3 separate regions of the Homo sapiens genome follow, and all the other regions are linked to region 3. Evidence: promoter capture Hi-C in human tissues and cell types (Jung and others, 2019). All regions are on one chromosome and are shown on one strand. The core of a region is centred on a gene start or on the middle of the fragment in contact, and the rest is flanking DNA. Distances in the headings are between cores, read along the strand shown.

What was found. Contacts are between HindIII fragments. The study calls those that stand out against the background at their distance.
Region 1: a contact is called between a fragment that was not itself captured here and the fragment with the promoter of TMEM220 in region 3, in 2 of the 25 tissues and cell types used here (H1 embryonic stem cells and liver).
Region 2: a contact is called between a fragment that was not itself captured here and the fragment with the promoter of TMEM220 in region 3, in 2 of the 25 tissues and cell types used here (stomach and thymus).

The regions. Positions count from the first base shown.
Region 1 is chr17:10,824,192-10,827,476 of GRCh38, reverse strand. It overlaps PIRT (phosphoinositide interacting regulator of transient receptor potential channels), which reads left to right. Exons shown (of 2, transcript NM_001101387.2): 2 at 1,694-3,285. The coding sequence starts at 1,832. The coding sequence ends at 2,245. Among named protein-coding and RNA genes, the nearest start is that of PIRT, 12 kb to the left of the region's middle. The HindIII fragment of the contact is 9,418 bases long and covers 1-3,285 here.
Region 2 is chr17:10,807,195-10,810,950 of GRCh38, reverse strand. All of the region lies in intron 3 of TMEM220-AS1 (TMEM220 antisense RNA 1), which reads right to left. Among named protein-coding and RNA genes, the nearest start is that of TMEM238L, 5.0 kb to the right of the region's middle. RefSeq lists enhancers at 2,698-3,197, 3,198-3,699. The HindIII fragment of the contact is 6,861 bases long and covers 1-3,756 here.
Region 3 is chr17:10,727,928-10,731,547 of GRCh38, reverse strand. It overlaps TMEM220 (transmembrane protein 220), which reads left to right and starts at 1,525. Exons shown (of 6, transcript NM_001004313.3): 1 at 1,525-1,768; 2 at 2,488-2,517. The coding sequence starts at 1,697. It overlaps TMEM220-AS1 (TMEM220 antisense RNA 1), which reads right to left and starts at 1,771. Exons shown (of 4, transcript NR_073458.1): 1 at 1,648-1,771. RefSeq lists enhancers at 900-1,486, 1,487-2,073 and silencers at 1,467-1,706, 1,717-1,886. The HindIII fragment of the contact is 10,329 bases long and covers 1-3,620 here.

The DNA.
Region 1 (3,285 bases), core at 541-3,040, 96 kb before region 3:
AAAAAAAAAAAGAAAAGAAAAAGAAAGAAAAGAAAGAAATGCTTTAATCGGACATGAAAAGAATTTGAGAAAGCACTGGTCTGGTGAAGTATTTGGCGGGCAAGCAGTGCTTCTCTGCAGCCCAGCCCTGAAATTGCTCCACATGGGTGACCATCTACCTCCCCTGAGTCAGGGTCAGTGATGAGGGAGCCCCAGTGGCTGAGAGCTATGCAGATGGGCTCTCGATTAGACCCTGGGGTGGGCAATTGAGTGAGACTCCATACCTTTCCAGGCCTGAGAATAGGAAGCTGGAAATTGGCCTTGATGTAATTAACATGGAGGGTAGGGAAGGGTGGCGTTTAGATCTTAGAAGGTTGCACTGTGGGGGCCAGGCACAGTGGCTCATGCTTGTAATCCCAGCACTTTGGGAGGCCAAGACAGGTAGATCACCTGAGGTCAGGAGTTCAAGACCAGCCTGACCAATATGGAGAAACCCCATCTCTACTAAAAATACAAAATTAACTGGGTGTGGTGGTGCATGCCTGTAATCCCCACTACTCAGGAGGCTGAGGCAGGAGGATCGTTTGAACCCGGGAGGCGGAGGGTGCGGTCAGCTGAGATCACGCCATTGCACTCCTGCCTGGGCAACAAGAGTGAAACTCCATCTCAAAAAAAAAAAGAAGGTTGCACTGTGAACCTGTGACATCACTGTCCTCTGCTGACAGAGCACGTGAAAGCCCAGGCTGCACGAAACGGTGTTCTCCAGACTACGCATAGCCTGGTAGGAGTGACAGGGTTCAAATCTGAGCTCAGGCTGTTCCTTATCGTGTGATCTTCAAGAAGTTGCTTCACCTCTCTGAAGCTTCACTATCTCATCAGTAAAACAGGACTAATGCCTAATTCACAGGTTTATTGTCAGGTTTCAATTTAACAAAGGAAGTGTTTGATGCAGTGTCTGGCACAGGACACACATGCAGAATTTATCTGTAAAGCATCACTCTTCTAATAGACAAACGATATCATTTATGGAGTATTTGCCATATGCTAGGCATTATTTCAATGCATTACATCCCTTAACTCACACCGTTTTGAAAATTCTATGAAAGAAGTAACATTATCCTCATCTTATAGATAAGAAAACTGAGACAAAGAGAGGTTGAGTAATTCCATCAAGATCAGACAACTAGAAAGTGGTTGGGTCTGAAAATAAAATGCCATTCAACAAAATATAGCTGGCCGGGTGCGGTGGCTCATGCCTGTAATCCCAGCACTTTGGGAGGCCGAGGCAGGTGGATAACTTGAGGTCAGGAGTTCGAGACCAGCCTGGCCAACATGGTGGAAACCCGTCTCTACTAAGAATACACAAATTAGCCAGGCTTCATGGCAGGTGCCTGGAATCACAGCTACTCAGGAGGCTGAGGCAGGAGAATCACTTGAACCCGGGAGGTGGAGGTTGCAGTGAGCTGAGGTCACGGCCACTGCACTCCAGCCTGGGTGACAAAGGGAGACTCCATCTAAAAAAAAAAACAAGCAAACAAACAAAAAACTATAACTTGTTTGTTTCTAAAATGGCATCACTGTTCCTTGTTTTAAATATTAAAAGCTATTGAATAAAATGTTATAATATTTATCTCTTGCAAGAAAAAAAAATTATACCAGCTTGGGTGGTTTCTTATTTATGTGAATTTCATTTCATTTTCTTTTTTGGCTTCAGCACAAAAACCTTGTTCACCCTCCACTGAGAGCGGGGCTAGAGATGGATGCTGAGTACAGGAAGGGTGTGTGAGGATTCCTTTGGCTCCACTCTTGTTTCCAACTATTGCTGGTCCTAGGCGCCCAGTCCTGAGCAACCATGACGATGGAGACTCTCCCCAAGGTTCTAGAGGTCGATGAGAAGTCTCCAGAAGCCAAGGACCTGCTGCCCAGCCAGACCGCCAGCTCCCTGTGCATCAGCTCCAGGAGCGAGTCTGTCTGGACCACCACCCCCAGGAGTAACTGGGAAATCTACCGCAAGCCCATCGTTATCATGTCAGTGGGCGGTGCCATCCTGCTTTTCGGCGTGGTCATCACCTGCTTGGCCTACACCTTGAAGCTGAGTGACAAGAGTCTCTCCATCCTCAAAATGGTAGGGCCTGGCTTCCTGTCCCTGGGACTCATGATGCTGGTGTGCGGGCTGGTGTGGGTGCCCATCATCAAAAAGAAACAGAAGCACAGACAGAAGTCGAATTTCTTACGCAGCCTCAAGTCCTTCTTCCTGACTCGCTGATGGTGGTTTCCGCATCTCCCTGCCACCTTGACTGGGAGAAGATCTGATGACCAACATCCGACATCCCTGTCTCCTCTGTGGGGTGCCATAAAACTGATCCAGGAAAATGCTCTTCCTGACCCTGTGGGGAAGATAGAGCTTGGGGCTCCACCCTCCATGCAGCCGGGAATGTTGCCAGATGTATCCACTTGATCTCTATTCTGACTGATGCTTCCTTGGATCCCGGCTGTGGCCTTCCCTTTGGTCACTCTAACCCCCTGCCCCTGCATCCAGGCATCATTCATCCAACTCTCTCTGCCAAGTGCAATGCATGCTGGGAAATTCTTCGAAGGTGGGCTATGCCCAAGGGAGAACCTCATGTTTACATATCTGAGTGCCAGAGCTGGATTCTTCATTTGCATACTTCTGGAACCAAAACTGACCCACGGAGGTCCTTTACAGAGGAGGGAGGGATGGCTGAGCTCTGACCCATTGGGTTTGACAGCCCTAGCTCCCTTAGCAGACTTTCAAGATCACAAGTATCAAACATTCCAAAGACTGAACAATGAAGGGAGGCCTGGGAAAAATACTCTCCAAGATGGCACGTGCCCCTGGACATGACAACATGACTCTAGGGGTTAGTCAGCTGAAGAAGTTTAGTTCCTAATTATATAATATTTACATCAGAGGCAGTGGGGTAGGCTAGGGGATGTCACTGTTTCCGCTTGACCTTATCTTTCTCATTGACCACTGTCTTCTCTGAACTTGATCATTAGCCAAGGACAAAATGCATGTTGCCCTAATTTCTTTCCTACCCCTGCCTCTATCTCTGCATCTAGAACAGCTAAATGGAAAGATACAGAGGGATCCTGTAAGGTTGTTTTCCCTTTCACGTCCATCAAGATCAAAATTGAGAGAATCAAGTTCCATATCTGAATGATCTGTAGGTTTCTAGAGATGGAATTCACGTCAGAAAATTCCAACTTCTGTTATCCCTGCCCCCACCCACCAAAAAAGCCAACATTTATTAAGTGTCGCATTCTGGGATAAGCCCTGGCTGG
Region 2 (3,756 bases), core at 1,195-3,694, 78 kb before region 3:
CGTGTGCCTGTAATCCCAGCTACTTGGGAGGCTGAGGCAGGAGAATCTCTTGAACCCAAGAGGCGGAGGTTGCAGTGAGCCAAGATCGTGCTACTGCACTCCAGCCTGGCCTGGGCAGTAGAGTGAGACTCCGTCTCAAAAAAAAAAATTAATTAAATGGGAATAAGAAAGAAACTAACTTGATTATCTGAGGATTTGGGAAACAACTGACACAAGGGTGGGGAAGAGGAAAGGGAGAAGAGTTGGTATTTGTATTTAATGCCCATGAGACGACAAGACCAGGTTCTAATTGCAGCTCTGTTACCTACTTGCTGGCTGAACCTAGGCAACTCTCTTAACGGCTTTCAACTCTGGAAGAGGAACAGGGCTGCAGGGAGGACAAGGAGATGCTGGATGTAGATCGATGTCCATTGTACATAAAGTGCAACACAAATGCATGGAAATACTATTATTATCTGCTGAAAGGGGGCAAGGTTACCAACCTGCGGAGAAGGAAGGTGATGAGCAGCAAGGAGGTGGTAATGGGAGGATGCTTTTGAGATGTGGACAGGAGTCATGAAGGTTTAGGTCAGCCCAGTAGGGAATAAGATAGGAAAACCAGAAAAGAGGGCTAGAGTTTCCTGAGCTGGAGGGAGGGTCCTCGAGCATGGATTACAGAGGTCCAGGCAGCGCACTTTGGGGAATTCTTATAAGACCCTGTGGGTAGCCTAACAGAGGAGGAATGAAGAGCTCTGAAAATTGTCAGGGGTCACTAAGATAAGAGCGAATACATTTCTGAAAATACTGACCCTAAGTCCCACACTGAGAAAAAGGAGGAGTAAATGAAGATTGATTGGGGAGCATTGATCAGGGTCAACATTTTTCCAGATTCTGGCACTATATCCCTGGCAGTATGGGAAGGGATTTCAGTTGGCAGACAGGCTCACATTAAAAGGCATAGCCATTTCAATTTTCATTCAATCTTTCCTATGACTTCCAGGACAAAGCCACTGGTTGGTGCTATTATGTTTTATGTACCTCTCTAAACTTTGTGAGTCTTGGGTCTTTATTTGAGAAAGAGAGCAATTTCAGTAGGCAACAATGTCTAGTTTGGAAATCAGCAAATCTGACCTGCTGCCTGGTTTTGTAAATAAAGGTGTTTTGTTTTGTTTGGTTTGGTTTGGTTTGGTTGGAGATGGAGTCTCCGTCTGTCATCCAGGCTGTAGTGCAGTGGTGCGATCTCGGCTTATTGCAACCTCCACCTCCCTGGTTCAAGCGATTCTCCTGCCTCAGCCTCTTGAATAGCTGGGACTACAGGCATGGGCAACCACACCCAGTTATTTTTTGTATTTTTAGTAGACAAGGTTTCACCATGTTGGACAGGCTGGTTTCAAACTCCTGACCTCAGGTGATCTGCCCACCTCAGCCTCCCAAAGTGCTGGGATTACAGCAAAGTTTTATTGGAATGCAGCCACACTCATTCATTTACATATCATCTCTGGCTCTTTCACCATGCAGTAGTCTGTTTTCATACTGCTATAAAGACATACCCAAGCCTGGGTAATTTATAAAGGAAAGAGGTTTAATTGACTCACAGCTCAGCATGGCTGGGGAGGCCTCAGGAAACTTACAATCATGGTGGAAGGGAAAGGGGAAGCAAGGCACCTTCTTCACAAGGTGGCAGGAAGGAGAAGTGCCCAGCAAAGGGGGATGAGCCCCTTAGATCTCGTGAGAACTCACTATTACAAGAACAGCATGGGGGAAACTACCCCAATGATCCAATTACCTCTACCTGGTCTCTCCCTTGACAGTTGGGGATAATGAGAATTATGTGGATTATAATTTGAAATGAGACTTGGGTCGGGACACAAAGCCAAACCATATCACACTACAATGGCAGTGTTGAATGGCTGTAACGGAGACCAACAAGATTGCCTGCAAAGCCCGAAACATTTACTATCTGGCCCAATACAGAAAGAGTTTGAGTACCCCTGGTCTGATTTAATTACAATTGTTTTGTGTTCAGTATATTTATTCCCAAGTACTTTCTGTCTAAGTCACACCAGTTTTTCACTGATGGTGACAATAACTGATTGCAGTTTTAACAAATCCATTTTTTTTTTTTGAGACGGAGTCTTGCTCTGTCGCCCAAGCTGGAGTGCAGTGGCACAATCTCAGCTCACTGCAAGCTCCGCATCCCAGGTTCACGCCATTCTCCTGCCTCAGCCCCCCGAGTAGCTGGGACTACAGGCACCCGCCACTATGCCCGGCTAATTTTTTTTGTATTTTTTTAGTAGAGACAACAAATCCATTTTTAAAAATTAACAAAATAATATAGCATTAACAAACGAATGTAATATTCTATAAGTAAGAGACACAAATTGCAGGGAATGGTACACTTAAACAATAAGTGAAGCTTGATAAACACTGGATTACGAGATTAGGGGGCGTTGAGGGATTTGAGGATGGTGAAGATAAAGAGCCACTTTGGTAGAGGTAAGGGATCTGAAAGATAAAATGGATCTGGGAAGAGGAGTTCATGAAAATAAAGGATTTGTACCCATCGAAGAATGGTGAGACAGCACTGCACGTCCTAATAGATTTAGTGAGGGTAGTATGGGGAGGCCAAGGGCCAGGCAGCTGCTACCAAGTGAAGCCCAGGTTGGTAAAGGGGAGAAAATGATGGTGCCAGAGAGTCATGGATGGATGCCTTCCAACCTGGGTTTTTCCTTACATAAGCATCATGGCAGAAATGTAAAGATTCCCAGCGGCAACCACAACAATAACACTTGTCCCTGTTTACAGAGTGCGGGTTCTAAACACTTCACACCCATGCACTCACTTACGCCTCACAGTAATCCTATGAGGAAATTGAGGCACAGAGAGGGTAAGTGACTTGCTCAAGGTCACACAGCAAGTGAGTGGCACAGCTAGGCACTCTACTAAGCTCTGCACCATGAAAAGGTAGGCAGACCTAATGAACAGGCCGGCATGGCTAGACCCACCCAACATCTGAGCCTGCCACCCAGGATGTGACTGGGCCTTTGTCATTCATGGAGTCAGGTCTGGGATCTGTGACGCTGGGTCAGCTGAGCACCTAGCTAGTCCATCCTGGTGTCAGTTGCCTGCCCTTTAGGATCCAGGTCATGGAGAGGCTGTCATCTGGTGACATCACGGATGACAAATCATGATGACTTTGCCAAGGGAGTGACAACGTCTCAGTTGCCGAGAAGAGGCGGAGCTGTGAGACAGCAGCAGAAAGACAAACCTCTCAGAGGCACAGGGGTGGCTGCAGCCCCAACAGCCCAGCAAAATCGCAGAAGGAGAGAGGCAGAGGGGCCCTCAGTGACCAAATTGGAAGTTGCAGGCCAGGGGCTAGGCGTCCACCTGTGCCTTCCACACCATGTTATGGTTCAGAAAGCAAATGTCCAGAGGAGTGTAACAGATGCCTACTGTCTTATACTTCCCTGTTTTTGCGATTTTTTTCTGAAATTATTAAATTGCAATATAATCTGAAATTATACCATTCATGTGTTAATTATTGCCTCCACTCTTAGCATCTTATGTCTGTGATGTTAGGTCAAGATCAAGATCATACTTGATCTTGATCCTGCTGCCTGACCCATAGTAGGTGCTAATAATATTGGTTCAATTTAAATCCCACTTCAGCTCAAACTTCAAAATGTGTAGGGGTCACTTAGGGTTACCCACTCGTGGAGAATGAGCACCTTGGCTTGGTGAATAGAGGTGACAGCAGCCAGAACCCAAGCAGGGTGA
Region 3 (3,620 bases), core at 276-2,775:
AGTCCCATTTTGAGGCACTGGGGGTTAGGGCTTCAGCATATGAATTGGGGGTGCAGGGGGAATGCAAGTCAGCCCCTAGCACTCTCGCTCTCATTTTTTTCTTTTATGTAAGGAAAAGCACAGTGAGAATAGTCTTCGCTTGTTTCCAATCCCAGGGCTGATTTAGCTGTGGAACTCCACCCAGTGCTGGTCCCCGCTGTCCCCACCCCACCTCTGCAAACACGGGTGCCCACCCCCGCCAGCCGCCAGGCTCCCTGCCTAGTCCCGGCACGGGACCTTCACGGTCCCAGCACCAGGCACAGAGCAGACAACGTTCTTGAAATAAGTGTTTCGTGAAAAGAATGAAACTGAGAGGGAAAGAAAAAAAAAACTAGACAGTTTTAGGAGATTTAGCTCAAAGGAAAAGAGGACAGGCACAGAAGCTCCTGATTTGAAGCGATAAAGACTCTTTAGAACAGCAGAAATGAGGCCTATGGATGTGTAAATGAGCCCGGGGAGGAACTAAGCAGAAGGGCGAATTACAAAACAGAAAAAGACCAGACAGACTAGGGGAGAACAGTGAATATTTCAGTGTCTTCGGTTCATAAGAAATTCATGAGCAATTTTGGAAATTTTGTTGGTTTTGGTGGTGGGAGAGAATTGTAAATATGTATAATATGTAAATATCTTTTATAATAAAAGCCCATGAAGATAAATGAGCCTGTCTGCCGAAAAGCTGTGAGCCGTATAAGATGTTAATATAACTGTCGTCACTCTAGAAATTACCATAATGCTTACAGGGATTTGAAAGTTCCTGAGCTTTGGAAGGAAATGCATAAATACTAAACAGAACACACACACACACACACACACACACACACACACACACACACACATCTCTTTTTCTTTCTCTTTCTTATTTTTGTAAAAACAATTTTTATCCTTTTTTTTTTGAGGAGTCTCGCTTTGTTGCCCAGGCTGGAGTGCAGTGGCACAATCTGGGCTCACTGCAACCTCCGCCGCCCGGGTTCAAGCAATTCTCCTGCCTCAGCCTCCTGAGTAGCTGGGATTACAGGCTCCCGCCACCACGCCCGACTAATTTTTTCGTATTTTTAGTAGAGATACGGGGTTTCACCATGTTGGCCAGGCTGCTTTCGAACTCCTGACCTCAGGTGATCCGCCCACCTCGGCCTCCCACAGTGCTGGGATTACAGGCGTGAGCCACTGCGCCCAGCCCTTTCTTTCCTTCTTTCTTTTTCTTTCTTTCTCTTTCTTCCTCTCTCCCCTCCCGCCTGCCTTCCTTCCTTTTTTCCTTCTTTTTTTTCTTTCTTCTTTTTTTTTTTTTTTGTGAGGAAGGTAGCTTTAGTGAAAACAGGGTTTGGAGTTGAACCTATACGGGTTCAAATTCGACTTCCGTCCACCACCGAGACCTGCGCTCCCTGAGGGACTCGCTTTCCCATCCGCGAAACCAGGACGGCGCCGCCTACACCCCGCGGCGTTCGGGGCGGGCTGAATGGGTCGCTGAGTGGGGGCTACACCCACGCCCTTCGCTCCCCGCCCCCGGGCGGAGCGACGGCCACGGCAGTGTCCCCAAGGCACCGAAACCGAGGCGGGGGTCTCGGTCCCTCCGCGCAAGGAGGAAGGCGGACCGTACGTGGCAGGACTCACCGCCCCGCACGTGGCAGGACTCACCGCCCCGCGCCGTGTTCTCCGAGCCATGGCGCCAGCGCTGTGGCGGGCCTGCAACGGACTCATGGCCGCCTTCTTCGCGCTGGCGGCCTTGGTGCAGGTCAGGCGGCCGCGGTGGGAGGGGGACCCGCCCGGCTCCCAGCTCCGCCCCCTGGCCTAGCGGGCCGTGTAACTGACTAGCGGGCAGAGTCGCAGGGGCGCACAGTTAGTGGGGAGGACGGGACTTGGGCTTTCTGCTTGGGGAGCCCCCACTTTCTCCCCCGTCTAAGAGACGCGGATGTGTTCATGGAAGCGAGTCCCATACCAGGGCTCACACCCTGGAAGGGGCTGGTTCCGCGCGTGGAACTTCCCAGGGGACCTCAGAAGAAGCGGCCCTGGCTCCTGCGTTAACGTCCGGCCCGCGGACGACACTGAACATATCTCAGGGCCTAGGAGACGAAGCCGACCAAAACCCTTTATAGCATCATTAAACTTTTTAGTCGGCTTGGGGACCCCCTTCATAATCATTTCCCTCATTTCTTGAGACTGGTGGGGGTGGAGGGCCCTTAAAATACCCGTTCTGGGTTGGCGAGTCCTCTCCAGAGCTCCCGTGAAGGCTTTTCAAAAATGTGTGGCTGCCTGTTAAAAACATCTGTTGTGTCAGCCAGAAACCCCTTCACCCGTCCTCATCTGGACTATATCCTGTTCAGATTTTGTACCCTCGATGCCTATTGCAGTGTCTGGCACTTAACAAATTAATAAAAAATGTGCTTAAATGAATTTAAAAGGAATGGAACAGCACAGGATGTCTGCTAACACCTTGGTATTCTGGCGTTCCAGGTAAATGACCCAGATGCAGAGGTGTGGGTGGTGAGTATGAGCCGCTTCCAGGCTTTCCTCCGTTTGGAAGAATTGGGGAACGGCACAAAACACACGGTTTTATGTCTTTACCCCTCCTCCCTGCTTAATTTTCTGAGAAACTTAAAAATCAAACCCTTGGGAAGCGCTTTTTCCTAAAATATTAATAGGCAGGATCAGAGTTCTAATGTAATGTGTGTGTGAATTTCGAACTTTCTGGAAACAGGTCTTTCTGCAGTATTCCCTTTGGTTAGATGGCCCAACTGAGGACTTTCTTGAGGACCTAGAGTAGGCCTCTCAAGATCAGTTGAACAATTCCTTATGAGTTTCTAGCCAGACACTCAATGCAAACCTTTGACCGGAAAATAACAGGCTTAAGTTCTGAGGTTCTGCTAATTCAGTGACTTATATTTCTAGAAAGTATTAACTCCTGGCTGGGCAAGGTGGCTCACGCCTGCAATCTCAGCACTCTGGGAGGCCAAGGCGGGTGGATCACTTGAGGTCAGGAGTTCTAGATCAGCCTGAGCAACATGGTGAAACCCCGTCTCCACCAAAAAATACAAAAATTAGCCAGGCGTGGTGGCATGCGCCTGTAGTCCCCAGCTACTAGGGAAGCTGAAGCAGGAGACTCGCTGGAACCCAGGAGGCAGAAGTTGCAGTGTGCTGAGATCGTGCCACTGCACTCCAGTCTGGGCGACAGAGTGAGACTCCATCTCAAAAAAAAAAAAGCAAAGAAAAAAAAGAAAAAAAAAAAGCAAAGAAAAGTATTAAATCCTGTAAAACCTACAGTCTTCATATAAGCAAGGCTCTGATTTGAACCATTTGGAGGAGGGGGCCATTGTTCCATACATCTTCTAAATATCTTTTTTTTTTTTTCTTTTTGAGACGGAGTTTTGCTCTTGTTGCCCAGGCTGGAGTGCAATGGCGCAATCTAGGCTCACCGCAACCTCTACCTCCCAGGTTTGAGTGATTCTTCTGCCTCAGTGTCCCAAGTAACTGGGATTACAGGCATGCGCCACCACACCCAGCTAATTTTGTATTTTTAGTAGAGACAGGGTTTCTCCATGTTGGTCAAGCTGGTCTTGAACTCTCGACCTCAGGTGATCCACCTGCCT